6 separate regions of the Homo sapiens genome follow, and all the other regions are linked to region 1. Evidence: promoter capture Hi-C in 16 types of primary human blood cells and fetal thymus (Javierre and others, 2016). All regions are on one chromosome and are shown on one strand. The core of a region is centred on a gene start or on the middle of the fragment in contact, and the rest is flanking DNA. Distances in the headings are between cores, read along the strand shown.

The links. The method cuts DNA at HindIII sites, captures the fragments that hold promoters and counts their contacts. A CHiCAGO score of 5 or more calls a contact.
Region 2: a contact is called between a fragment that was not itself captured here and the fragment with the promoter of GGCT in region 1, in 1 of 17 cell types (total B cells). The highest score is 6.0, in total B cells.
Region 3: a contact is called between a fragment that was not itself captured here and the fragment with the promoter of GGCT in region 1, in 1 of 17 cell types (naive CD4 T cells). The highest score is 5.8, in naive CD4 T cells.
Region 4: a contact is called between a fragment that was not itself captured here and the fragment with the promoter of GGCT in region 1, in 4 of 17 cell types (naive CD4 T cells, non-activated CD4 T cells, activated CD4 T cells and 1 more). The highest score is 6.7, in naive CD4 T cells.
Region 5: a fragment that was not itself captured here is called in contact with the fragment with the promoter of GGCT in region 1 in 7 of 17 cell types (total CD4 T cells, neutrophils, non-activated CD4 T cells and 4 more); the score reaches 8.8 in total CD4 T cells.
Region 6: a fragment that was not itself captured here is called in contact with the fragment with the promoter of GGCT in region 1 in 1 of 17 cell types (activated CD4 T cells); the score reaches 5.1 in activated CD4 T cells.

What each region holds. Positions count from the first base shown.
Region 1 is chr7:30,503,376-30,507,716 of GRCh38, reverse strand. It overlaps GGCT (gamma-glutamylcyclotransferase), which reads left to right and starts at 2,888. Exons shown (of 4, transcript NM_024051.4): 1 at 2,888-3,148. The coding sequence starts at 3,008. RefSeq lists enhancers at 2,413-2,502, 1,922-2,800, 2,943-3,152, 2,801-3,680 and a silencer at 3,303-3,482. The HindIII fragment of the contact is 6,754 bases long and covers 293-4,341 here.
Region 2 is chr7:30,304,439-30,308,724 of GRCh38, reverse strand. The region is part of intron 1 of ZNRF2 (zinc and ring finger 2); the gene reads right to left. Among named protein-coding and RNA genes, the nearest start is that of MIR550B1, 17 kb to the right of the region's middle. The HindIII fragment of the contact is 3,784 bases long and covers 1-3,314 here.
Region 3 is chr7:30,324,436-30,328,624 of GRCh38, reverse strand. All of the region lies in intron 2 of ZNRF2 (zinc and ring finger 2), which reads right to left. Among named protein-coding and RNA genes, the nearest start is that of MIR550B1, 37 kb to the right of the region's middle. The HindIII fragment of the contact is 1,675 bases long and covers 955-2,629 here.
Region 4 is chr7:30,249,416-30,253,822 of GRCh38, reverse strand. All of the region lies in intron 2 of LOC124901607 (a long non-coding RNA gene), which reads right to left. All of the region lies in intron 3 of LOC105375218 (a long non-coding RNA gene), which reads left to right. Among named protein-coding and RNA genes, the nearest start is that of ZNRF2, 33 kb to the left of the region's middle. The HindIII fragment of the contact is 666 bases long and covers 2,150-2,815 here.
Region 5 is chr7:30,266,794-30,271,305 of GRCh38, reverse strand. The region is part of intron 2 of LOC124901607 (a long non-coding RNA gene); the gene reads right to left. The region is part of intron 1 of LOC105375218 (a long non-coding RNA gene); the gene reads left to right. Among named protein-coding and RNA genes, the nearest start is that of ZNRF2, 16 kb to the left of the region's middle. The HindIII fragment of the contact is 5,121 bases long and covers 1-4,191 here.
Region 6 is chr7:30,362,412-30,366,905 of GRCh38, reverse strand. ZNRF2 (zinc and ring finger 2) reads right to left here. Exons shown (of 5, transcript NM_147128.4): 4 at 4,450-4,494; 5 at 1-871. The coding sequence ends at 4,472. Among named protein-coding and RNA genes, the nearest start is that of LINC01176, 26 kb to the left of the region's middle. The HindIII fragment of the contact is 1,135 bases long and covers 1,918-3,052 here.

The sequences.
Region 1 (4,341 bases), core at 1,639-4,138:
AGCTAAAGGTTTTTAAGTGCACCAATCGGGGCTCTGTGTCTAGCTAACCAGGTAGGAGGCTTAGAGAACTTTTCTGTCTAGTTAAAGGATTGTAAATGCACCAATCAGTGCTCTGTGTCTAGCTAAAGGTTTGTAAACACACCAATCAGGGCTCTGTCAAAACAGACCAATCAGCTCTCTGTGAAATGGACCAATCAGCAGGATGTGGGTGGGGCCAAATAAGGGAATAAAAGCAGGCCACCAGAGCCAGCATGGGCAACCCACTTGGGTCCCCCTCCAGGCTGTGGAAGCTTTGTTCTTTTACTCTTTGCACTAAATCTTGCTGCTGCTCACTCTTTGGGTCCGCACCGCCTTTATGAGCTGTAACACTCACCACGAAGGTCTGCAGCTTCACTCCTGAAGCCAGCGAGACCATGAACCCACAGGAAGGAACAACTCCAGACGGGAGGAACGAACAATTCTGGACGGGAGGAACGAACAACTCCGGATGGGAGGAATGAACAACTCTGGACGTGCCACCTTTATGAACTGTAACACTCACCATGAAGGTCTGCAGCTTCACTCTTGAAGTCAGCAAGACCACAAACCCACCAGAAGGAATGAACAACTCCAGATGCACCGCCTTTAAGAGCCGTAACACTCAACCGCGAGGGTCTGCAGCTTCACTCCTGAAGCCAGCGAGACCATGAACCCACAGGAAGGAACAACTCCAGACAGGAGGAACGAACAATTCTGGACGGGAGGAACAAACAACTCCGGATGGGAGGAATGAACAACTCTGGACGAGCCACCTTTATGAACTGTAACACTCACCATGAAGGTCTGCAGCTTCATTCCTGAAGTCAGCAAGACCACAAACCCACCAGAAGGAATGAACAACTCCAGATGCACCGCCTTTAAGAGCCGTAACACTCACCGCGAGGGTCTGCAGCTTCACTCCTGAAGTCAGTGAGACCACAAACCCACCAGAAGGAAGAAACTCCAGACACATCTGAACATCTGAAGGAACGAACTCCGGACACACCATCATTAAGAACTGTAACACTCACCGCGAGGGTCAGCGGCTTCATTCTTTAAGTCAGTGAAACCAAGAACCCACAATTCCGGACACACCAGCACTTTGGGAGGCCGAGGCGGGCAGATCACGAGGTCAGGAGATCAAGACCATCCTGGCCAACATGGTGAAACCCCGTCTCTACTAAAAATACAAAAAATTAGCCAGGCATGGTGGCGGGTGCCTGTAGTCCCAGCTACTCAGGAAGCTGAGGCAGGAGAATGGTGTGAACCCGGGAGGCGGAGCTTGCAGTGAGCCGACATCACACCACTGCACTTCAGCCTGGGCGACGGAGTGAGACTCTGTCTCAAAAAAATAAAAATAAAATAAATAAATTGTAACCAGCAGTAATCCTCAGGGAGTAATTTGGCATCAAGTGAATATCCTGTTCCCTATCACCTTTTCACCAAATGATATCACTGATGATCCTGGCATGAATCAATTATAAAATTCCATTATTCATTTAGGATGACTTAGTTGGCATACTTTTGTAAAGAGAACTGTTTCCTCATCAACTGATGCTCGTCATCAGCTGTATTTCAGTTACCCCGAAATACAGCTGCTACTAGAAAGGCGGAATACCTGTTTGTTTTCTTAAATTATCACTTTGCAGAGTAAAGTTGGTGTAATAGTCACCACCAATAGTGTGGCAAATGAAGTTATAGTTTTTTTTTTAATTTGGATTACTCTTTGGGGGGAATGGCTTTTTTATGTTTAAAGTTTCCAATCATTTTTCAGTTTGCAGTCATTGTTATTTTTGATTCTCAAATTGTTCTAATTTTGGCCAGTGGGCAACTTCAGGCTGGTTCCCATGTCCTTTTAGAAGGACCTCGTTCGTCTTGAGAGGCGTCCTGAGCTTCTGACACAAGATGTTCCAAGTTGTCCTCATTCACTCCTAGCTCCTGACCTGGCATCAGTCATTTCTCGAAGGATCACTTGGTACCTTTTAGTGGGGGGTGGTATTTAGAGATTAATAGCTGGGTGTCAAGGATAGACAATGTTCCTATGCCCTTATGTTCATTCAAAAGTTAACAATATAGGTTTTAAAAAATACACCCAGGATGTGTGTGTGTGTGGGAGGGGGTAACCAAAACACAATATAGGGGTTTCTACTGTGACCCTAACTTATATTATGATCCCGATTTTTAAAAAGAGGAAACGGAGACCAGAGGTGCCCAAAGTTACTTGGCTAGTAAATGGCAGCGTCGGGATTTAAGCCCAGGCATGTAACTTCCATGTAACAGGGAAGGGAGTCCCAAGCATTCAGAGGGGCCGCTCCAGCAGGCGACGGGTCCGTGGAAAGGGGTCAGATTGATGACCAGTGCTGGGGGTGCCGGAACCAGCAGAAAGGGTGAACGGACCCGTCCTGCCCGACTCCTCTAGGCCAGGAAGGCAGGACCCGGCGAGCTGCCGGATGAGGGAGCCGTTGATGGAGTCGCCTGGGCCGCTGTTTCGCCTCAGATCTGACCAGAACTTCCTAAGGCACAGAAAGTACCAAAGAACCACACACAAGCACCCCAGAGCGAAGAAACCAGTCACGCGCCACGACCTTCAGCCAGTGTCCATGGGACCCGACCCGCCTGTGAGGAGTGCCTGTCCACCCCTCAATCAGAGGAAGCCTTGAGCAAGGAGGGGCGGGACATCAGTAGGTCGTGTCCAATGAGGAGCCAGCGCCGGATTGCTTCAGGACAGACTATTTCTGAGTCTCGGCGGAAGGCGGAGGGAAGGCCGTGGGGATGGCCAATCAAAGGGGGCGACTCAGGTCGGTGGGGACCGGCAGCCAATCAGGAGAGCGCTCGCTCCTGACTCGACCGGCCCACGCTTCCCGCCAGTCCCCTAACCCTGAGGCTGCCGCGCGGCGGTCACTGCGCCGGGGTAGTGGGCCCCAGTGTTGCGCTCTCTGGCCGTTCCTTACACTCTGCTTCAGGCTCCAGTGCAGGGGCGTAGTGGGATATGGCCAACTCGGGCTGCAAGGACGTCACGGGTCCAGATGAGGAGAGTTTTCTGTACTTTGCCTACGGCAGCAACCTGCTGACAGAGAGGATCCACCTCCGAAACCCCTCGGCGGCGTTCTTCTGTGTGGCCCGCCTGCAGGTGAGTGCCCCCTCCCGCGCTACCCACGCCGGGGCCGGGATGCCCAGAAGGCGCTTCCTCGGGGGCACACGTGGCCGATCGGGCCAGGAATGCAGTTCTTCTTGATGAGGGTACTAGGACGCGGCTTCCGCCTCCTGGGCGGGTCCACCTCCTCCGCTGCGCCCACTGCCCGGCCCTGCCCGGGCCACGGTGCCCTCTCGGGCTGCCTGGAGCTTTCCCCCTCCTGGCCTTTGCACCGGCTGCTCGGTCTGCACCGATTTGGCCTCTCGTCCACTAACTTAACAGATTGCATACAGTTGGTACTTCTGGAGAGTCTTCTCTGACCCGTGTCTGGGAATTGGTTGCCTTCTGTTCTGTACATAACCTTTGTTACAGCACTTCTCACCTGGCATTGTGAAAATCCGTTTACCTGCCTTTCGCTCCTCATCTAAGAGGTCCTGAAAGCTGGGACCATGTCTTATTTGTAATAATGCTGTGTTCAGTTAGGTCAAGGGGCTGCATGAACTATAACCAGTGTTGGTAAATCATTGCTCTTCAGCCCAGTCCATTCATTCATTTAGTACATATTCTTCCGGCACTTAACACTAAGGGTATAAACATGATTGAGTAAAGTGGCTGTTTCGAGGAACTCTCAGTCTGTAGGACAGAGGTGCAATAGATTATGTTCAAAACCTTTTTGACAGCGTCGAATGAGACAAACATGATCTCTGCTAACATCGTGAGTTCTTAGTTGCAAGCAACAGAAACTGGCTGATTTAAGCAAAAAAAAAAAAAAAAAAAAAAAAAAGAATGTGTTGAAAGGCTATTGGAGAGCTCACAGAATGACCAGGAAGGCAGGAGTACAAAGCTGACAAAACGGACAAGCATAAAGGGAGGCACAGCAACTGTAATACAGTGGGCATCACACAACAGAACCAGCCCACGGAGCCTCTTCCACGCCACTGCTGAACTTGGTAAACGTGGATGCTGTATTGTCCACCACCCCCTGCCCTGGACACTGCCTGCCTCTGTACATCCCTGCAGTTCCTGAAACCCAAATGTGTCAGCCTCTCTGGAGTCCCTGCTGTCTTGGGCACTAGCTTCTAATTGAAAGCCCCAGAATGTCCCGATTGGCTAAGTTTTGGCCACGTACCCATGCCGTGATTTTAAGCAAAACTGAGAGAACCAGCTTCTGGCCTTTGAAGCCTCAAAAA
Region 2 (4,286 bases), core at 173-2,672, 200 kb after region 1:
AAGAAATACAAACTCTCAAACAACAGTGTAACTAAAAAGCAACATAACCACAGTGGAAAACACTATTAAGCTGAAGGTATACATAACCTATGACTCAGCAATTCCACTTCTAGGTATATATCCCAGAGCAGTGGTTCTCAAATTTTAATGTCCTTAAGAGTCATTCATGTGGAGAGCTTGTTTCGGTTTCCTAGACCCCATCCCCAGAGATTCTGATTGAGGGTGGAGCCCACAGATTTGCATTTCTCCCAAGCTCACACAGATGACACCACCAATGGTGCTCGTTCAAGGACCATATTTTAAGTAATACTGTCCTAAAGAAATCTGTGCACATATGCACCAGAATACATATTAACAAAAAATTCACAGTAGCAATGTTCATAATGGCAAAATGGAAACAAACACCCAACAATGGAATGGTTGAAAAAATTCTGGTGTATTTACAGAATGAAAAATGATAAACTTTAAACTACAGAATGATGAACTACACACAGTATAAATGAATCTTACAAACATAAAAGCAGCAAGACCCAAAAAAGAGTATGATTCCATTTATATCAAGCTGGCAAAATTAAACATATTCTTTACAAATGTATATATAAATTATAAAACAAAGAATGGCAAAGAAATGATTACAAATGTACGGATTATGATTATTCTAAGAGGAAAAAAGGGCTTCATTATCAGGAAAACAAAGGGGAGGATTTCTGGAGTGTTGGCACTGTTCTACTGCACATGGATGACAGGTGCATTGGTATTCATTTTCTAACTCTACTCTTCCATTTTCTGCATTTTTCTTATTTATATTTCACACACAAAAATTTTAAAGACATTTTCTTTGATGGTAAAATTTTATGAAAGTGGCTTTCCAAAGTCTACTATAAGTTTTAACACACTAAATCTGGCCTCATTCTTTTAATCAGTTAAATTATATTTCACAATCTAAGTTTAAGAGTGAAACATTATGCTCGGTGGTAAATAAAAATTTCATTAAATCAAAATACAAAGTCTTGAGGCAACAGGTTAACGGTTATTGCTATGAAAAATCCTAATATATTTATACCTTTAAAAAACACTTGAAAGGCTCAAATATCTTGAAATGTGAAACAAGAAATAACAACACAGAATTTGATAGCAAATTTAGCAGAATTAAGGGTCAATAAAAACAGTATCATTCAATGGACTTGGACTCAGTCTATAATTCTTCCCAAAGATACTAGTTATTATGCTTTTAATGTACACAGAACAAACATCTTACAGAGATCTACCTGGCAAAATTTGGGAGGATTCCAAATGCCATATAGAAAATAAAAGTAGTACAGATGTGAGAAAGACTTTTCTCCTTCCCACTCCAATACCCCTCCACCCCCAGCCAAAAAAAAAAAAAAAAAAAAAAAACAAAAAAAAACAGCAGAAAGAAGACAAAAAAGAGAATGCAAGCTCCAAGAAAAACATCACTATGAAACACACAAACAATGGATGCCATTTGACACAGCATGCAAGGACAGGAGAACCTCAGAACTAAAGTTTTATCAGTCTACACACAAACAAGGCAACAATGAAAACCTGGGAAACCACAGAGACCGTCTGAAGTCTACAAAGTTTTCACCAAGATAGGTGAGGGTAAAAAAATCCTCACTAGGTCAAAAACTTTGTAAATCTTATTTAAATACTTACCATTAAACTACTGGTTCCAGAAGGGATAGAGGTAGCAGAGTAGAAAAAAGAGGGAAAACCCAATCAATACTAAGGATAAAAAGTGTCAACATAATATTAAATCTATGCACCCAGAATAAAATAGCAAATAAATACAAAATAATGAGAGATTAGGCAGCCAACTTTCTAGTAGTATTGAGAGGTGGGTGATCAATGCTCCCTTCTGCCTCGTATTCCTGTTTTACTTATTATTTGGACACTGAGCTACTTAACAGCTATTTCAAAAAGTGGACTTGGGAAGGCAAAGAAAGTCTGTAATTTTAAGTACGGTCGACAGGCAAGTCAATGTGCAACTTAAACTACTAAAGGAACCAAGAATCCCTTTATTACCTAAATTCTATTTCACAGCAATTGGATTATCCAGTGTTTTAGGAAAATTATCTATGTTTATCCATAATGTATGTACACAACTAAAGCAGTGGTTTAGTATTTCAGTGACTGGAATAGGTGGTTTTATCATTTGCTGGTATGGTTGATACCTAACCATTATCCTAAACAAATGAACAGTGACGCTGCTTATTGTAGCTTGCTCATTTGCCATAAAAGATGGAATTTTATTCTTCCTGACTTTGTTTCAACAGCTTTTATTATTTTAAGTATTTTATGTAATGCTTTACTTACTTCTAGCTTTCATACCCACCATTTAAGGCAACTTGCAGATAGGAGAATTTATTATTTTGATAATAAGCCATAAAAGACTGAATTTTATTCTTCCTGACTTTGTTTCAATAGCTTTCATTATTTTAAGTATTTTATGTAATGCTTTACTTACTACTAGCTTTATACCCGCCATTTAAGGCAACTTGCAGATAGGAGAATTTATTATTTTGATAGTAAGAGTGTTAGCTCACATTTGCAGAGCACTTTAAGCCAAACACTTTGCTAAATGCTACATTATCTCATCTAATCTTTAAAACCACTATATGAAGTAGCTACTATTATTATTATTACTTTAATATTGAGGAAAGAGCGGCTTAGAGAGTTTAGATGACTGGGCCAAAGCCCCAAAGGCCCAGCTACAGATCCAAAAATCAAAACCACTACACTATACAAACAGTAATAAATAAGATACCCAGAATAATGTTTTCAATGTTTCAATCTTAATTTCATTGCCATAAGTGCTAGAAACATGTATGACAGATGAATGTAATAAGAATCACAAGTCTTATGAAAAATTTCCCAATTCACTGATTTACTAAAGTACCAGAGGATAAACTAAACAAACAAGTAGGAAATATGACACTTTAATCTTACAAGAAATCAAATGTTAGCCCTAACTAAAAATACTAGAGAAACAATATTTATTGCTGGTAACTGGTCAACCTCATCTACAACACTGCTATAAGAATTAAATCATACACACAAAAACATGTCCACATTAAAAACTGAAAAAGTGTACTCCTTGCTAAAATGAGTTCAAGAAATGAAACTAATGGCTTACAAGAAAGATAAATTCTGGGTGGTTATTTGTTATAAAGGTTTTTTAAGTATACTTTTTAAATGACAATGTTTTAAAAAACAAGGAGAACAAACTTACAAAAATACTATCTACATGAAAATAAAAGCTAAATAAAATAAGCCATATCTCCCTTGAAGCTTAAGATATCTTTTAAAACATGAGTAAAACTAGTATAGTTACCTATTTTCCTAAGAACAATAAAACTTTACGTAAGATTAGAATGCTCGAAGCTTCAGAAAATAAGTACATTTACAATGATGAAAGACAATCAGTATCTCAAACAGCAAAACTTTATACCCAGTGGTATTCGGGTAGATATTTAACAACTGTTCTCCAGGGGAAAAAAATCCTGATTTGTACTAGTTGCTGATTTCCATGGTATAAATAGTCTGTCCTATTTCAAGTCACCAAAGTGGTATCATTGAACACAGAATAGGAAAGAGATGTGCAACTGCACACTGACAGAATTTCCACCACACAGATACAACAGGTGTCAATAACCTCAAGAACACAGATAACAGTAAAATATAATAAAACTAGGACATAAGTTTTGAGTATTTCCTTTGTTTTAAATATAATTTAAATGCAATTTATATAATTTAATTTTAATGATGGTTATATTTAACATCTGGCTTGCCGAAGTCCTAATAATTTATCAACTCCAGGAAGAGCTAGTTCCAGCACACCAGGGGCACAGAGCTCCCTTTTTAACTCACCCTAGTCCTTTATTTCCCTCATTTTCCTATAACTTTTTGGTGGGTTAATGAGGAAGCAAGTCATGCTATTTTCATCAATCAGCTCTCTCAATGATTTACCCTAAGTCTATATGATGAATATCCCTTAAGTCCACCTATCCTTGCTGTTCAAACAAGACCCAACCCATGGCCCTAAACATAATAGACTGGTAACACCCATTCATACTTTTCGGTAGTTTTATCACAGAAAAATGAAGCAATGGCTAGTTGCACCTGCTGCAAATATACTTTCCTCCACCTATTCCCTCAACATCACAATGGTTTTTGCCTCACAAGCATTTTTAAGTTTCCTAAAAGACCAAAATAATTTGCATTTACACTAATATCATTTACAAGCCATATCACTTGCAACAGTA
Region 3 (4,189 bases), core at 543-3,042, 180 kb after region 1:
AAACTCTAAATCATCAACTTATATTTGAATTTCTGGAACTCATCCAATTCAGGAGCTTATCTATATAAATATATCCAGTCTGAAGAAAACAAGCCCCACTATTCTTGTGTTATAACTATGAATGTTTATAGACAGTTAACATTCACTTAACAAATAAATTTCAAAATTTCAGATCTAGCTACTTTGGAAAAGGCTGCAAAAGTGTAAGTTAAATGAACAGTATGCTGAAAAAAATGTTCTTGTTTGAGCACTAACACAATTCAGAGGCCCAATGTATCTGATGTATCTCTCTATGGAATCAACATGTAGGAATTCAAATATAAAATTGTGAGGAATCCAGTTGACTAAAAAGATTCAGTTTTAGAGATTCTCTGGCTTTACCTTGTTCTACTTTATAATAATCCTAGATGGTTTGCTTATGAGGTATTAAAGGAGCCAATTTCCATTTGGACTCATCACCTGTGACAGACATTTTGGGGGGGGTCTGACTTTAAAACCAGGTGGCATTAGAATTCCCCTTGCCTATGATAGGAAAGTACATTATTAACCTGCCACCTCTCTGTAACCCTCCAAATCAGTCCAGGCAAAGCTCCTTTCTCCTTCACTTACTCATAACTGGCCACTGTCCAAGAGCTAGTTTTAAAACCTCAAAAACTATACACGGTTTTTATTAAGAAGCTGTATTTGCTTCTTGCTGTGAATGTTTATACAATTAATACATACTTTGAATTTTTTATCTCTACAAAATAAAAAATAAAAGCCAGGCATGGTGGCATGCACCTGTAGTCCTAGCTACTTAGGAGGCTGAGGTAGGAGGATCACTTGTGCCCAGGAGTTTGAGGCTGTCGTGTGCCATGACTGTGCCTATAGATAGCCACTGAGCTCCAGCCCGGGCAACACAGCAAGATCCTGACTCTAAAAACAAAAATATATATATTTTTATTTTTTAAAGCTTTCAGTCAGCAACTTTAAGAATGCCTACAAGTTTATTTACTTATTGCATGAAATTTATTAATTTCTAGATTGAAATACTGTTAAATATTTAAAATTCGAAATATTTGGTTGTTATAGTATCCCCAAGCAGAAGGTTATATATTAGTTCTTAAGACACCAAACAAGTGATCTAGCAGAACAGTTTAATGACTTAGGCATAGTTAAATCAGGAAATTAAGAACTGTCAAATATCCAAACCTGACCAAAAACAAGCAATGGGGAAAGGATTCCCTATTCAATAAATGGTGCTGGGATAACTAGCTAGCCATATGCAGAAGATTGAAACTGGACCCCTACCCCACGCCAACCTCCTTAAACCACATACAAAAATTAAGTCCAGATGAATTAAAGACTTAAATGTAAAATCCAAAACTATAAAAACCCTGGAAGACAACTTATGCAATACCATTATAGACATAAGAACAGGCAAAGATTTCATGACAAAGGCACCAAAAGCAATTGCAACAAAACCAAAAATTGACAAATGGGATCTAATTAAACTAAAGAGCTTCTGCACAGCAAAGGAAACTATCAACAAAGTGAACAGACAACCTACAGAATGGGAGAAAATTTTTGCAAACGAAGCATCTGACAAAGGTTTAATATCCAGCATATATAAGGAACTTAAACAAATTTACAAGAAAAAAGCAAACAACCCCATGAAAAAATGTGCAAAGGAGATGAACACTTTTCAAAAGAAGACATAAATGTGGCCAAGAATCATATGAAAAAAAGCTCAACATCACTGATCATTAGAGAAATGCAAATCAAAACCACAAGGAGATACCATTTCAAGCGTCAGAATGCGTATTATTAAAAAGTCAAAAAAAAATACATGTTGGAGAGGCTGCAGAGAAAAAGGAACACTTAACACACTGTTGGTGGGAGTGTAAATTAGTTCAACCATTGTGGAAGACAGTATGGCAATTCCTCAAAGACCTAAAAACAGAAATACCATTTGACCCATCAATCCCACTACTGGGTATACACCTAAAGGAATATAAATCCTTGTGTTATAAGACACATGCATGCATATGTTCACTGCAGCACTGTTCACAAGAGCAAAGACATGGAATCAACCTAAATGCCCATCAAATGATAGACTGGATAAAGAAAATGTGGGTCCATATATACCGTGTGAATACTACACAGCCATAAAAAAGAAGATCATGTCCTCTGTGGAAACATGGATGGAGCTGGAGGCCATTATCCTCAGCAAACTCACACAGGAACAGAAAAGCAAATTCCGCACGTTCTCACTTGTAAGTGGGAGCTAAATGATGAGAGCACATGGACACAAAGAGGGGAACAATACACATTGGAGCCTACCAGAGGGTGGAGAGTAGGAGGAAGGAGAGGATCAGAAAAAATAACTAATGAGTACTAGGCTTAATACCTGAGTAACAAAATATCTGTAGAACAAACCCCCATGACACAAGTTTACCTATATAACAAACCTGCACATGTACCCCTCAACTTAAAAGTTAAAAAAATTGTTAAATATCACAATACACAAGAAGACTGTATTCTAGATATATTACACAAAAAGTAAACATACAGAATACTAAGACTGTGTGTAAATATATTATTATATGGTCAAATATATTTGTGATTTTCAAATTGAAAGCCAGAAGCTTTAAGATTTATGGATATTTAAAGGCACTCATATTAAACATAAACAATTATAGAATATAAGATAGTGGAGCAGGTATGAAAAACAAACCCATATACTTTTAGTCACAAATTTTGAATGAGAACACTTTCTATTTCTTAAATAACTAAACTTGAAGTAGATAATGCAAAGTAGCCAATTCAATTTCATAATGCAAAAAGGTTAGGATATAATCAACAAATACATTTATTATGCCAAGTAACTGCTTAAAACCACTTTCACATTTCATCAGCAAATGAATGGCAAAAAGTGCTCTATTGTCAACCCTGTAATAGGGTGGCTGAAGCACCACCATACTAGAAAAAGTGAAGGAAAGGGAAGAATTGAGAGACTGATTCTTAGATCAACTTGCAAAACACTACCAAAAGTAATATGCTCATTTCAATGTTAAATTCTACCCCTCCCAACATTTTTGTTACCTGAGGAGAAAGCTCAGATAAGTGCTGCTATATCTACTAAGTTTTTCATAGAACCTTTTTATTTAACCAATAATTCTTAGCTCAAAGAAATCAGTGACTATTACTATTAGTAGGCTGTAAGCTCCATTTCTGTTCATTCACTGCTATATCTCTAATTCCTAACACAGTACCTCGCACATAATTGATGCTCAAAATATATGTTGAATTTAGCCAATCTTTCAATTGGCTATAGTGTTTACTGGTACCCTTTCTACACATTTTATTTCAGGCCAAAATTTATATTTAAAAAAAATGAAATTTCTCTTAAGCTTTTGAAGTCTGTTTCTTTATAAAATTTTGAAAACAACTTTCATTTTTCCTTCATTTTATTCTATTCATTGGTTAGGACAGAACTACTTGATTTTTCCCCCCCAAGTCTATTCCAAAGTATGCCAAGGCTACATTTAAAATCTTTCCTAGGTTTTGGAATATCTAGAGATTTTGGTCAGGAAAGAATGGTACAGTCTAAAACACCAGACCTAAAAAAATACCAGTTCGCTCCAGAGCTCACAGACTAAATTTGTATATGGGAGGAAAGACAGAGACACATATGCACTGCATAGGTAGAGTTTTGGGTTTCTCTTAATGACTTTTTTCTCCCATTAGGCATCTATTTACTATTGAATAAACTTTTATTCTCCCTACTCCTCATATATGTTCCCTTCATTTACTCTATACTCTTAAACAAAAAGAAAAAAGTTGCAATTTCAACCATGCTTACTTACTTTTGAAAATGGCCATTATGAACATTACATTTTACTTAGGCTTAACCCAAAAGATTTTATTTCAATGCAGCAGTTCTCAAACTGTGGTCCAAAGAATCTTGTACAGTAGGAGAAGTGGAAGAGCCTTTGAAATCCTTTTAGATTAACAAAGTAAAAACTATTTTCATGGTAACACTAAGTATCTGTTTTTTTGTTTGTTTGTTTTTGTTTTTTTTTCTTTTTTTTTTTGAGACAGAGTCTCACTCTGTCTCCAAGGCTGGAGTGCAGTGGCACAATCTCGGCTCACTACAACTTTCGCCTCCTGGGTTCAAGCGATTCTCCTGCCTCAGCCTCCCGAGTAG
Region 4 (4,407 bases), core at 1,233-3,732, 250 kb after region 1:
CTCAAAAATGTCTCTTTCCCCCATCGACATGTGCCAGGGCCTGCAATTCCTACCATCTGTCTCATCTTTGGGTTAAGACAGTGCTTTCATTCATTTGTTCATCCATGTATTTAACCAACGGTTATTAACCTGAGCCCCTGCTGTGTACCAGGCAGGTACCAGGTGTACGGTGGCACAGTGCCTTCATGAAATCTGTCATCTACTGAGGGAGATGTTTGTACTTTCTGCTAAGATCTATGACGGAAAAGAGAATAGCAGAGGGCTCAGTTGGGGAAAGAGACTTGGAAGCTGTTGCTGAAGGGCGGAAAGGAGTTAACAGAGTGCTGAGTGGAGGAGAAGATTTCTGGGCAGTGGCAGCAGCATTGGCTAGAGGCCAAGGCTGAGGGCAGTGAAGAGCCTGGTGAATTCCAGGAACTGCCCTTGAGGCTGAAACAAAGAATGTGAGAAGGTTAGTTGTTGTAGGAAATAAATTGGAGACTTTACCAGGGTTGGTATCTGCAGAAAGTAAATTTTTACCATAAGAATGTTGCCTTGAGTATGATATATGCAGCCACTGGCTAACTTGGCAGGAATGATTGCCTCAAGTTGGCTGGTCTCAGTAGGCAAGTGACAAAGGGTAGATCTGAGGTGGGCAGAAGGAGAAGGGAGGGAACACTGGGAAGGAGCTCCACCCCACCCAGAGGGCCTAGGTCTGGGGTGAAGACTGGTGCAGCAAGGAGTGGGAAGCCTGTTGGGGTGTGAGCCCCACACTGACATGGCTGAGTCACTTCCTAGACGGGGACTTACTGAGGCTGTCTAAGCAACCACACACTCCATGGGGCCTGGTTCTGAAATGGAAGTATAGCCGTGGCGTCTTGAAGCTGACCAGGGAGGTAGTCTAGTCCAAGTTGCTCATTTTACAGGTTATGACTCTATGACCTAATTCAAGTGAAGTGAAAGCCACAGCTGGTTGTGTTGAGCTTTGAAGACTGTTCCCTGACTCTCATGCACCATGCCATCTCATCATTGATCGTGAGCATCTCCATGTAGTTGGAATTAGCTCTCAGGGGCAACTGGGTCATATATGGAGATAGTAGATGCCCAAGAAACACTTGTCAAAATAATATATTTCTCCATATCAGTTTCCTTTAGTTTCTTTTAAAGTGTATACAGATTGAAGACTGAACCAGACCACTATAGTCCCACACTCATACAAACTTGTGATTCATCAACATTCTTCCCAGAAATTGCCATTTTACCAGTGTAAAAACAATATTTTAGATGGAGAATATTTAAGAACATGAAGTACACAAAATGCATCATTCTACCCATCAAAGAAATTGACTAGGATCTGAAACAGGTTTCTAAAACATTAATAAACTATAGGCATTGAGATCTACAGTATGTTCGTTTAAGGGGTGGGAGAAAAATTGGAGCTAGGTGAAGGGGCAAATAATGAATTATTTCACTTCTAGGAGAGATTATATTGAAGAAAAACCTAAAATCAGTATTTTTAACATCATAACAACACAGATAATAGATAACAAGTGGATGATAGGAATTAGTAAAATTCTGGCTCTGAACATGTCCTTTTAGAAGTATAAAGAACACCAGAATGTATTAACATACAGTGTGTGCGTGCGTGTGTGCGTGTGTGTGTGTCTGCATGCGCTCCTGACACATGAGAACAGTGCTGTTTCCATGGCAACGGGGGAAAGTGTGTCTTGCTATGAAGCAATCTTCCTGGATTCAGACACATTTATAAAGATCATGCGCTGGAAGCTGTGAGGGATATATTTGATTCTACTATTCTTTAAATGAGTTAGGCTGTTGTTCCTGCCTCCCCCAGCCATTCTCCTATGCTGGACCTCCAAACTGAGCTTCGAGTACATTCTTTCAATTGTTTCCCCCCATCCAGCCTAGTGACAACCTCCATCACTGTACCATCTACTGTATCCCTTGGGGTTTCTCAAACCTGGCAGTAGGCTATGACAAAGATCCCCCATTGTCATTGCTCCTGAAGCACTGACTCTGTGTGTGTGTGTGTGTGTGTGTGTGTGTGTGTGTATGTGTGTGTGTGTTTTGTAGTAGTTCTTTCTTTCTTCCAAATGTACCTCTAGGAGATAAGTCCTATTCTTATCTCCAGTTTACAGACAGGGGAACTGAAGCTTAGAGAGGCCAGGTAACATCTCCATGGTCACACAACTAGTAAGTGGTAGAAGGGAAATCTGGACCAAGTGGCCTGATTTAGGGCCTATGCTCTTCACTCAGCAGGAGGAGGAGGAGGAGGAGAGGAAGGAAGCAATAGCATAGAGTTTTAAAATGTGAGAAATTTGACTTTATATCCAAGGCTTTTATAGTAGTGGTCCTTGGTCTGTAATGTCTGGCTTCCTTTTGAGACAGCTAAAAAATAAGAGTTTTCATTTTCAGCCCTCTATTTTTATTCTTGGACTTGAGGTTCACAAACCTTTCCCTTTCTTCTGATCCCATTTTTGAGTGTAGACAAAGTTCAGTATAATAGTAAATGTTCCTTTGCCTTAAGTGAGCAAGTTGATTTCTGAGGCTCTGCCCAGACAGCAGTGATTGTGCCTGGGCTTTCTCTCAAAGACATGTAATGTGATTTCTAGCAGTGGCTTCTGATTGAACTTTTATTATTTTTAATAATTCTCACAAATAATTATAATGTGGTATACTTATTTCATTCTCTTGCCTATTAGTGGCTAGAACTTCCAGAAATAGTGATCCTGATTAATAAGAATGCCTCAACTATTAGGCAAAAACCACAATTACTTTTGTACCAACCTAATATTTAATCGTATTTTGAAGAGGCTAAGCTTAGGCCTTTATCCACAGTAGTTTCCTCATAGGAAACTTTCATCATATACTTTCTTAATCAGGAATCTGATAATGGCTGCACAATTAGCCACCAGGCAAGCAGGAAGGTACAGACCTTCTAAGTGATCTCCTAATACTCAGAACTTAATCCAATGCCAGAGTCCACTTTTAAAAGTCAGCTCCATTGAGGAGAATGCTCCCTTAATATAAAACCATCAATCCTGTAGCTGTTTAGAAAGCCAGATCTTCATTCAGCTGTGAACATTAATGATGGTGTGCACCTCAATAAAGAACACTGTCAGGCTGAATTAAAAGACTATAAACTGGGTGTACAAAGGAGAATGAGACAGTAGCAGAGTGCTGGCACATAGGAGTCAAGCAGTAAATATTGTTGATGCTCATCTTCTGCCCACACCCACCCATGATAAAAGAACAAATGATGATCCACCGAGTCTTAGCAGCAAAACACTTCCTGTGCTATATAGAGAAGGTAAAAAACACCAAGCCCACGACAACTGCCTAGGTACAACTCATCTTCCTTTAGAGTGATGCTAATCAAGTTCATCTGGCCACTTTGTTCTCCACATTAGCATCTAATAGATGAAGCCTAGAAGAAAAAAGCCATTTTTCTTAGGATTCTTATAATCACAAAGTGTCTGTAGTCATAGGGATCAGGAATGGTTAATTAATACTTGCATTATCTTGCTTCCTTTTCTCCCATTATTTATATTTCCCAATGGAGTAAAACAGGGTTCAGCTTGGAAAACAAAGAAGCAATGGTTCTTAAAATACTGTTAACTCTGTCTGTGGAATGTACTCACAGCACAATCACAAGGGCAAAGTTATAAATGATGTGGCTTTGTTAGTGAGGCTTGCTTTATTTTTGTGAATGCATTGAATTTAATGAAACAAGGAACAACAACAGGAATGTATTATGTTTTCTAGTTTTCTTATTGACATGCTTTCTGTTGGGTCTAAGTATAGTTCTTTCCTAACTAGCACTAATTTTCAGTATTCTAAGTCACCATGCATGAAATCCTATGTTCTGTTCCTCTGTTATGAAAATGGTTTTCTTAAGTCTAGGTTTTTTGAAACTCCAGGTTTCAGTTGATTTAATGACTTGGTAGTCTTGCAATGTGGCTCTACATTCAAAACACCCACAGAATCTGACCACTTCTTACTACCTTCAACACTGCCCAGCCCGAGCCAGCATTATCTCTTCCCTAGATCACTGCATTGGCTCTGACCTGCCTCCACCCTTGCCACATTAGAGTTCATCTCAAAATAGCATTCAGAGTGGTTCTTTAAACACAAAAACAAGAAAAGGCCATTCCTCTGCTCAGAGCCCTGCCAGGGCGCTCCATTTCACTCAGAGTCTTCACAGTGACATGGGGGCCTGCCATGACTGGGTCCTCACCATGCTGTGATCACATCTCTATTGCTGTCTCTTCCTCATTCACAGTTCTGGCCATGTTACCCTCTTGCCGTTCTTTCAACATGCTGGGCACTGCCTCTTCCCTCTGTCTGTAATGCTCTTCCCTATATGTGGACACAGTTACTTCCCTCATTTCCTTCCATTTTTGTGTTTGAATG
Region 5 (4,512 bases), core at 382-2,881, 240 kb after region 1:
CACTGCTGTAAAGAACTACCTGAGACTGAGTAATTTATAAAAAGGACGGTTAATTGACTCACAGCTCTGCAAGCTATACAGGAGGCATGTCTGGGAAGGCCTCAGGAAACCTACAATCATGGCAGAAGGCGAAGTGGAAGCCAGCAAGTCTTATGTGGTAGGAGCAGGAGGAAGAGAGAGCAAAGGGGGAAGTGCTACGCACTTTCAAACAACCAGATCTTGTGAGAACTCACTCGCTATTGTGAGAAAAGCAAGGAGGAAATCCACCCCCATGATCCAATCACCTCTCACCAGGTCTCTCCCCCAACATTGGGGATCACAATTCAACATGAGATTTGGGTGGGAACACAGAGCCAAACTATATCAGCAAGTTGCTTAACCTCTCTGAGCTCCAGTTTCCTGCACTGTAAAATGGGGAATCATAATATCCATCAATCTCCTTATAAGATTGGAAAGATAAAGAAACTATATGTAAAATTCTTAGCACAATGTTCGATCCATGTGCATGCTCAATAAGTGGTTATTCCTCAAATTAGTTTCATTTGTATTGGGATAAATCATTGTTCCCTCCCATAGGTACATTTTCTATTTAACCAGTTGCCAGTTCTCAGAATCTTCTCCTGCCCCCCACACCACACAGGCTGCAGATTGTAGGGATAGATGACAGAGGATGGGAGGCTCATCTCACTCTCTATTTCAATACGTTCTACTTCAACAGCAGGGCTTGTTTTTATTACCTTATTGAGTTCACATGGGTAGCTTTTGGCAGCAGCAATTATTCTCCTTATTACTCTACAGATGAAGAAATAGATTTGGCTCTGATATGTTGGATTTTCTCAAGCAAGTCCCATATCGAAAATAAAAGCGTTTAATTCTAATCAGAGACAGCCGGGAAAAAAAGAAAAAAAAAAAAAACCTCCTGGCTTCCTGCCTCTTGAAAGCCTCTCCTTCAAAATGTTTTGAGGACCTGCAATGTGCCAGGTATTGTACCAGATTCAAAGTAGAATACGTGACAGAGAGTTGAACAAATCACTACAGGATCACTGGGGAGCAGGGGATGGAGAGGAGGCTCTTGACAGATGGGAATGGGGCAGACAGGATATGCTGTTTCACATAAGAGGTGCTACCTTGGCTGGGCAGTGAAGGTTAAGGAGGATTTGAGAAGTGGCAAATGGGGGAAAGGTGTTCAGGAAGAGAGAACAGCACGAACAATGACAGTGAGCTGGGAAACAGGCTGGCGTGTTTGGGGAATGGCAATTAAACAGGATGGAAGAAGATGGCACTAGAAAGTTAGCTTGGGGACAGATTGTATGCCAGGTGAAAGAGTTTGGATTTTAACCTGTCACTCTGTGATAGGCTGATCACATAATTCATCATCCAAATGCGCCACTTTTGAGAGTTAATGGGCATGCTACCCAGATAGAATAACCAAACACTCAGCAGAAAACAGCACTGTTCCAGGCCAACAGAGGCATACAGTCACCTAGCTTTGGGAAACCTCTAAGGACTAACACTCATCAAATTTGTTTATTGTAGAGGGAATTCTGGCAGCAATGTGGATTGGAAAAAAGAGGAAGTTCCTGCCGTCAAGGAGACAGCTAGGAAGGCAGTGGGAATGAAGAGGAGAGAGATAGACGATTGGTTTTGTAAGAAATAAGACAGACTGAACTTGGAGACAGACAGAGAGAGAGAATAGCTAATGATGACTCTGCACTTCCAGCCTGGGTGCCATGGGGCTGGGAAGACAAGAAGAGAAACAGGTTTTAGGGAAACAGTTTGTATAATTTGAGGCATGTTGAGCTGGAGATATTTGCTAAATATGTATGTCAGCATCCAGTAGGCAATTAGAACAGGAGGCGTAGAGCTCACAGGTGTGGATTGAACATGTAGATTAGGTCGTTAGGATACTAGGTGGAAGTTGCTCCAAATACTGAAGGAGAGATGGTAAAGAGGGAGACAATATGAAACCTAGGATGGACTTAGAGGAAATGGCAAGGAGCTGGTGGAGGAAGAGGAGCCAGGGAAGGAAGAGGTGGAGTCAGAGTTGTAGGAGGAAAAATAGAGGAGAGGTATCCCAGAGGGTGAAAGAAGGGGAAAGTTTTTGGGATGAAGGTCATTCATTCAACGATGTCAAAAGTAGCAAACAGGTAGGGAATGGTGAAGATTGGCATCATTCTTGAGCACAGCATCCATCAGTGTTGATCTTTTTTGAGTGGTGGAGATGGAAGACAGGCCACTGCATGTTGCAGACTGCATGGGAATGAGTACTAGATAGCAATTACAGGCCACTCTTTCCAGAGGTTAATAGTGACAGGCAGGAGAGGGAGTTATAGCAACTTGATGGGGAGGCAAGGTTTCCCTGCTTGATTTTCCTCATGCTGTTTACTGCTACGTCTTGTGTGAACACGTGGTTGGAAAATTAGAGAAAAGGCAGCTGAATCCACCGCGGGTCCCCTGGGTTCTGCTTTCATAGTCTTGAGAGCTGAACTTGAAGTGCTTTTCACAGTCATGAGAGTTGAATCCAAGTGATGATGGCTTTAAGAAATTACACTGAGAGTGAGTTTTCCAGCCCCAAATCTTGATGTCTTGGTTTGTATTCAGACATAACTTGGCGACGGCCCAGTTAGGACATTTCAGTGTATAGAGCTTTTTACACATTGCTGTTGTAGGCTGCTATAGCTTAGAATTTGATGATCACAGCTATTATACATTGTGAAAAGATTGATTAAAAGAATTTTACATAATGAATACTCATGATTCTGTGTGTAAGACCAAAGATGACTAAATCAGTACCCTCAGAGCCTGCAGAAAATATGGCTTTCCAAAAATAAAGGCAGTGTGTGGCTCTCCGGGATTCTCTAGTCCTTCACTAACCTTGGCCTAAAGATATGCAGGTCACCAATCTGATCCTCATGGTGGGTCATCTCCAGCAACAGGGACTTGTGGTCCCTAACGTGATGTAAACTCAGAGATAAAACAGGTAATATAAACTCAGAGAAAGGAGACTCCCTTAAAGAATGAAGAGAGGCTGGGTGTGGTGGCTCACACCTGTAACCCCAGCATTTTGGAAGGCCGAGATGGGAGGATCACTTAAGCCCAGGAGTTTGGGACCAGTCTGGCAATGTAGTGAGACCCTGTCTCTACAAAATGTAAAAAAAAAAAAAAAAAAAAAATTAGTCAGGCATGGTGGTACACACCTGTAATCCTAGCTACTCAGGAGGCTGAGGTGGGAGGATCACTTGAACTGTGGAGATCAAGGCTGCAGTGAGCCGAGATCATGCCACTGCACTCCAGCTTGGGCAACAGAATGAGACCCTGTCTCAAAAGAAAAAAAAAGATGAACAAGAATGAAGACAGAGGGTGAACGACAAGAAGATGCATCTATCGAGGGCTGCAGTTCTTACCTTCACCTCCTGATGCATGGAGAGATAAGTAAAAATAGTTTGTTGGCACTAAAGTTTTTCTACTGGTAGGCCATATTCATTTAATTGACAACAATCCTCCCTATTGGTAGACCACATTAGTTAATTTGACAACAATTCTCCCTTCTTGGTATAAGATATCTATTTACATATCATAATTCTCTTTTAAAATGTACTGGTCCTCTTCAGTCTTCAGAATATCTCTGCCACTGTTTTCCATACTGGCTATGCATGTGACAACATTCATTTCCCAGCACTGACACTGCCATCATCCATCAATCTCAGGTCACTCCTGCAGTCAGGGAGGACTTAGACACCTGGTTCAGTCTCCTTCTCCCCTCAAATAGTATCCTGGTCCTGGAGGATTTCAGCCTCCATGTGGACACCCTCCCATCAGTCTGGCCTGAACATCCATTGCCTGCCCCCTCCCGCAGCAGTGACCTTCGCTTGCACTCCATTCCAGGTGTCCATTCCCCTGGCCTTACCCTGGGCCCTGTCATCACTTGAAACGACTCCACCTCTAACAGTAACTCCAGCACTGCTTTCTCACACAACTCACTCTCTTTCCCCATTAACACTTCATTGGGATATTGTTGGCAAAAATGTAAGTATCTCCAAAACTTCTCTCCTCTAGGAAAGCAGTGAGAAAACCAGCAAAAATAATGAGACTCAACTTTTTCAGAACTCTGTAAATTAACCCAAGGCTTGCAGCAATCCAGGGAGTGTTTATTCCAGAAAAATGGTTGAATCTCAGTAAGTGCAGCAAGCTTAACTTGCCCTGTTCCCATCACCCACCTCCTCCAGCTCTGTGGTAGCCTTGAAAATCAACAGCCCACAATCACAGTGAAAGCCAATAGCCTGGCAGCCACTGGAGGAGGCACAGTAGTATTAGAGTTCCTTCAAAACCTCATTCCCACAGATCTGTCAGGATTTGCCCTCTCTGGGAGTTCCCAGGAAGACTTTAATTGCAAGACTTTAATTGCAGATTTACTTGATCTGAAGATCACCCGGTGCAAAAACCCTTTTCCCTGGGGACATTTATTCAAAACATTTGGAGGCAACCATTTAATTTCAAGGGTGCCTGAAGTAG
Region 6 (4,494 bases), core at 1,236-3,735, 140 kb after region 1:
AAACAAAAGATACCCGTTAAAACAGTTATTTTAGCTGGCAGCACTTGAAATTGGTAATCTGTATTTTTTTTAAATTGCATAGCTGCAAGATGATTCACTGCTGATTAACTGTTGAGCAGTTTTATTTAAGAGGATAAGAATATTTAATAAATTGCAATTCAGTAGAATATTCTATATTTAATTAAAATGTAATTATGTAATATGATTTGCTCTTTGGACTGCATTCTGATATTAAACCTTTAATTTAAAAATATTAACATATTTTAGCTTTCCTATGTAGAAGTCTATTTTCCACTCGTGGGGGAGAAAATGGAAGAACTTGAGATCATGGTCTACATTCAGATGTTTTTACTGCTTGATTACATTTCTTGGTTTCACATTTAAGACTTCAATTTATAAGAAGTAAATTATATGTTTTTCAATTTAAGAACAGATGAATGCAGAAACATTATGAACATTATGTTGGGGAAAACAAAGAGACCCCAAATTAAAAAACAAAACAAATCAAAACATAACTAGTTGTGCAGCTCTGGAGAACTTAATAAAAAGTAAATCAACTTTTAAATCAGTTAACTTTGGCGTCTGAATACAAAATGTTTATCAGTATTACCTATGTAGATGACTATTAAGGGATGTGCAGCATTTTCAAAATCCCTGTGTGTCCTTTGTATGCATGTTTGGTACACTGAGTTCTGTGGTCACTGTCCTCTCTTCAGCAGGGTTTTTTTACCCCAGTACGATTGTCCATCTCTGTATTACCAAGTCTCACAAAACTCAGATTTCTGGCTGAGTATGCCTGCGTCTTTGTTTCTCCAGAGACAGATTTTCATATCCTCTTGGTTTTTCAAGCATCTTGTCAAGACAAGAAAACCTGTGTAAAAATAGATTTCCCCATGAACATTGCTTTAGTTACTGTAAGTCTTCATACCCTTACTTACTATTCTGAAAACTCATAAAATCAGTGATCTGGAGAAGAACAGATTAAGAAACAGAAGGATCAATTAAAGTTTAGTCACAAAAAATACATAACAAAGTCATCCCCCTTTCACAATAAGGACTACACGCAAGTAAAGAATGCACACACACGGAGATTTAAAATATTTCTCCCAAATAACTAAAAACCCCAAAATAAGTACAGCAATTTTCTAACTAATCAAGACCACAAATATTCATGTCTCTCTATTTTGGGTTGATTATTAAATTCTTATGCTGAAGGATATCAGAAACGTTGAGCTTTATGGCTACACAGTGCCTTACAAAATGTTTTAACAACACTGAATCCTCCTCAAACCCATATACCTTTAATCTAGGACTATTAAAAGGTATACAAGAATTTATCACTTGATAAATAAGAACAGTCAGGACAGAAGCAAAAATGTACAAGTCAAGATATTCCATGTCTATAAACTCTTAAAAATGACTCTTCAAGACCCACAGAAGCAGACTCCATTGGTTCAGATTTCTGTAGACACCTGATTAACAGAGTTCACCCTGCCCATGTAGTAGGCTAGTTTCAAATTCAGGTTCTATATTCGAAAACAAACAAATAAGCAAATATAACACTCATATGTAACATAAGAAAATGGAAATGTTGTTGAAGACCAACAGACATATGCATTTCAGCTATGAGATGAGATGTATGCTCCACATATCCCATAAGCTCACTGTGACACTAAAGGAAAAATTTAGCTGATGAAAGAAAAAAAATTTATACAATATAATTCCACCTCACCAAAAAAAAAAAAAAAAAAAAAAAAAGCTTATCAGCTCTATGGTCTAAATGTTTGTGTACTCCCAAAATTGCTATGTTAAAACCTAATCTGCAGTGCTATAGTATTAAGAGGTGGGGCCTTTGGGACATGATTAGGTGATGAGGGCTCTGACCACATGAATGCAGTTAGTATCCTTATAGAAGCTTGAGGGAGTCTGTTATCCCACCACGTGAGGACACACAGAAGGTGCCATAAATGAGCAATGAGCCCTCATCAGACACCAGATCTACTGGCTGGAACCTTGATCTTAGACTTCCCAGCTTCCAGAACTGTGAGCACTAAATTTCTGTCATGTATAAATTACTCATCTAAGGTATTTTGTTATAGCAGCCCAAAATGCACTAAGAAAGACTAAAAAGACAAATTTTATCTATAGATGAAGGATTTAGATGTATTACTTTGGCATGTAAAATACTAAGACAAAAATTTCATTTTGTTAGCATCAGTTTCAGTACTTCCCTTAAAATGCTTCTATAATTTTAGCCACAGTTTCGTTTTGTCTCAAACATAAGGTGACAATGAAGGCATTCCAAACCTTTTCTATGGTGAAATAAAAACATATGTGCACATATATTCAAAATACCACTCCACCACTATACTTCTCTTACCTAGCATTCTTACTTCCATTCACATTTTATTTATTTATTTATTTAGACAGGGACTTGCTAAGTCACCCAGGCAGGAGTGCACTGGTGTGTTCATAGCTCACTGCAGCCTCAAACTCCTTATCTCAAGCAATTAGTGTTCAGCCTCAATTCATATTTTAAATGTGTCAAGGCATGATCTAAGTAAGTTCACAGGAAAGGTTAAAATTGGCAGTCTTTTAGTACTCTGCAGTCTACCAAGGCTTCCACATTTCACATGCACATGCGTAGTCTTATGACACTCAACTGCAGTTCTCATTTCAGGTGCTATTGCTGCTATTATCTCAAATCTTCTCTGTCAATATTCTAATCTGCTACTCTTAAATCATCTTCCACCAATACAGCAACAGAATTCCTTGAGGGTGTTTATTACCTCAACACTTTTATTCTCAAATTTAAGAGAAGTTATTGAAATAAAAGGAAATGGTACCACACAGGACTAGACCTCTGGACGTCATCTGGTCTAGTTCCTTGCCATCAGTCTCAGCCTCCTAGAAAAGCCGGCTGTTACTGTCTTGAGTCCCTGAACAAAGAGACTCTCACTCCTGAAACAATTCTAGGATTAGCTAAAATGCTCTGCCTTGATATAACAATCCAATGCTTTATATCATCTCTCCAAGTCTTTTCATAAAAGCTTTTCATATATTTGAAGATAGCAATTAAGTTAACCTTTATTTTTTCAAAGCTAAATGATGTCAATTTAATGCACTTGTGAAATGTGAAAAAAAAAAGCCCTATGAAAATACCCAATTGAGGTCAGCATTCAATTCACTAAACATTTTCAGATAATGCAGAACCATGAAAAACTTAAATCAGTAGAACAAAACTAGTTTTTTTTTCAGTCGTAAAATGCAACTTTATTTTTTGCCTACTATATAGACAGGCACTGTATTACATGCTAAAGATATAAAAGTGAATGATTAAATTGAATGAATAAATTTATGATGCGACTGTTTGAAGAAAATGTTCCTACCTAAAAAGAGCAAAATTGCTAAGAACAGTCTTTGGAACCAGAATACCTGGGTTCAAATTTCATCCCCACCAACAAACTAGTTATCTGAACTTGAAAAGTCAAGTTTCTTAACCTCTCTATACTTAATTTCTTCATCTGCGTAATAGGAACAGTAATGGTACTGAGCTCAAAACGGTTATTGTAACAATTAGACAAGTTACTAATAGATGTAAAATGCTTACAACAACACCTGGCACATGATAATACTAAATGATTAGAATTATTATTTTTTGGTTTGGTTGTTTTTGAGACAGTCTTGCTCTGTCACCCAGGCTGGAGTGCAGTGGCATGATCTCGGCTCACTGCAACCTCCACTTCCTGGGTTCAAGTGATTCTCTTTTGTTTTTTGTTTTTTTTGAGAAGGAGACTCGCTCTGTCGCCCAGGCTAGAGTGCAGTGGCACGATCTCAGCTCACCGCCAACTCCACCTCCTGGGTTCACACCATTCTCCTGCCTCAGCCTCCCAAGCAGCTGGGACTACAGGCACCCGCCACCAGGCCTGGCTAATTTTTTTTTGTATTTTCAGTAGAGACGGGGTTTCACCGTGTTAGCCAGGGATGGTCTCAATCTCCTGACCTCGTGACCCGCCCGCCTCGGCTTCCCAAAGTGCTGGGATTACAGGTGTGAGCCACCATGCCCAGCCTCAAGTGATTCTTGTACCTCAGCCTCCCGAGTAGCTCGGATTACAGGTGTGCACCACCAAGCCTGGCTAATTTTTGTATTTTTAGTAGAGACAGAGTTTCACCATGTTGGCCAGGCTGGTCTTGAACTTTTGGCCTCAAGTGATCCACCTGCCTGAGGCCTCCCAAAGTGCTGGGATTACAGGCGCGAGCCAGCATACCCAGCCAACAATTAGAATTATACAATATTTTTAATGTAAGTTTTCTATGCAGTAGCCTAAGTGTCTGAAACATACACATACACACTCATGCACCTCAATGAGTAAATGAATAAATAAAAATTATAGTTTAGAATGTATAATTTGGGCTAACGCTTTAAAAAGTAATTACAAAAAAAATTACCTATAAAACAGGAAGCTGACGCTTAATCTGAAGGGTGCTCAGGGC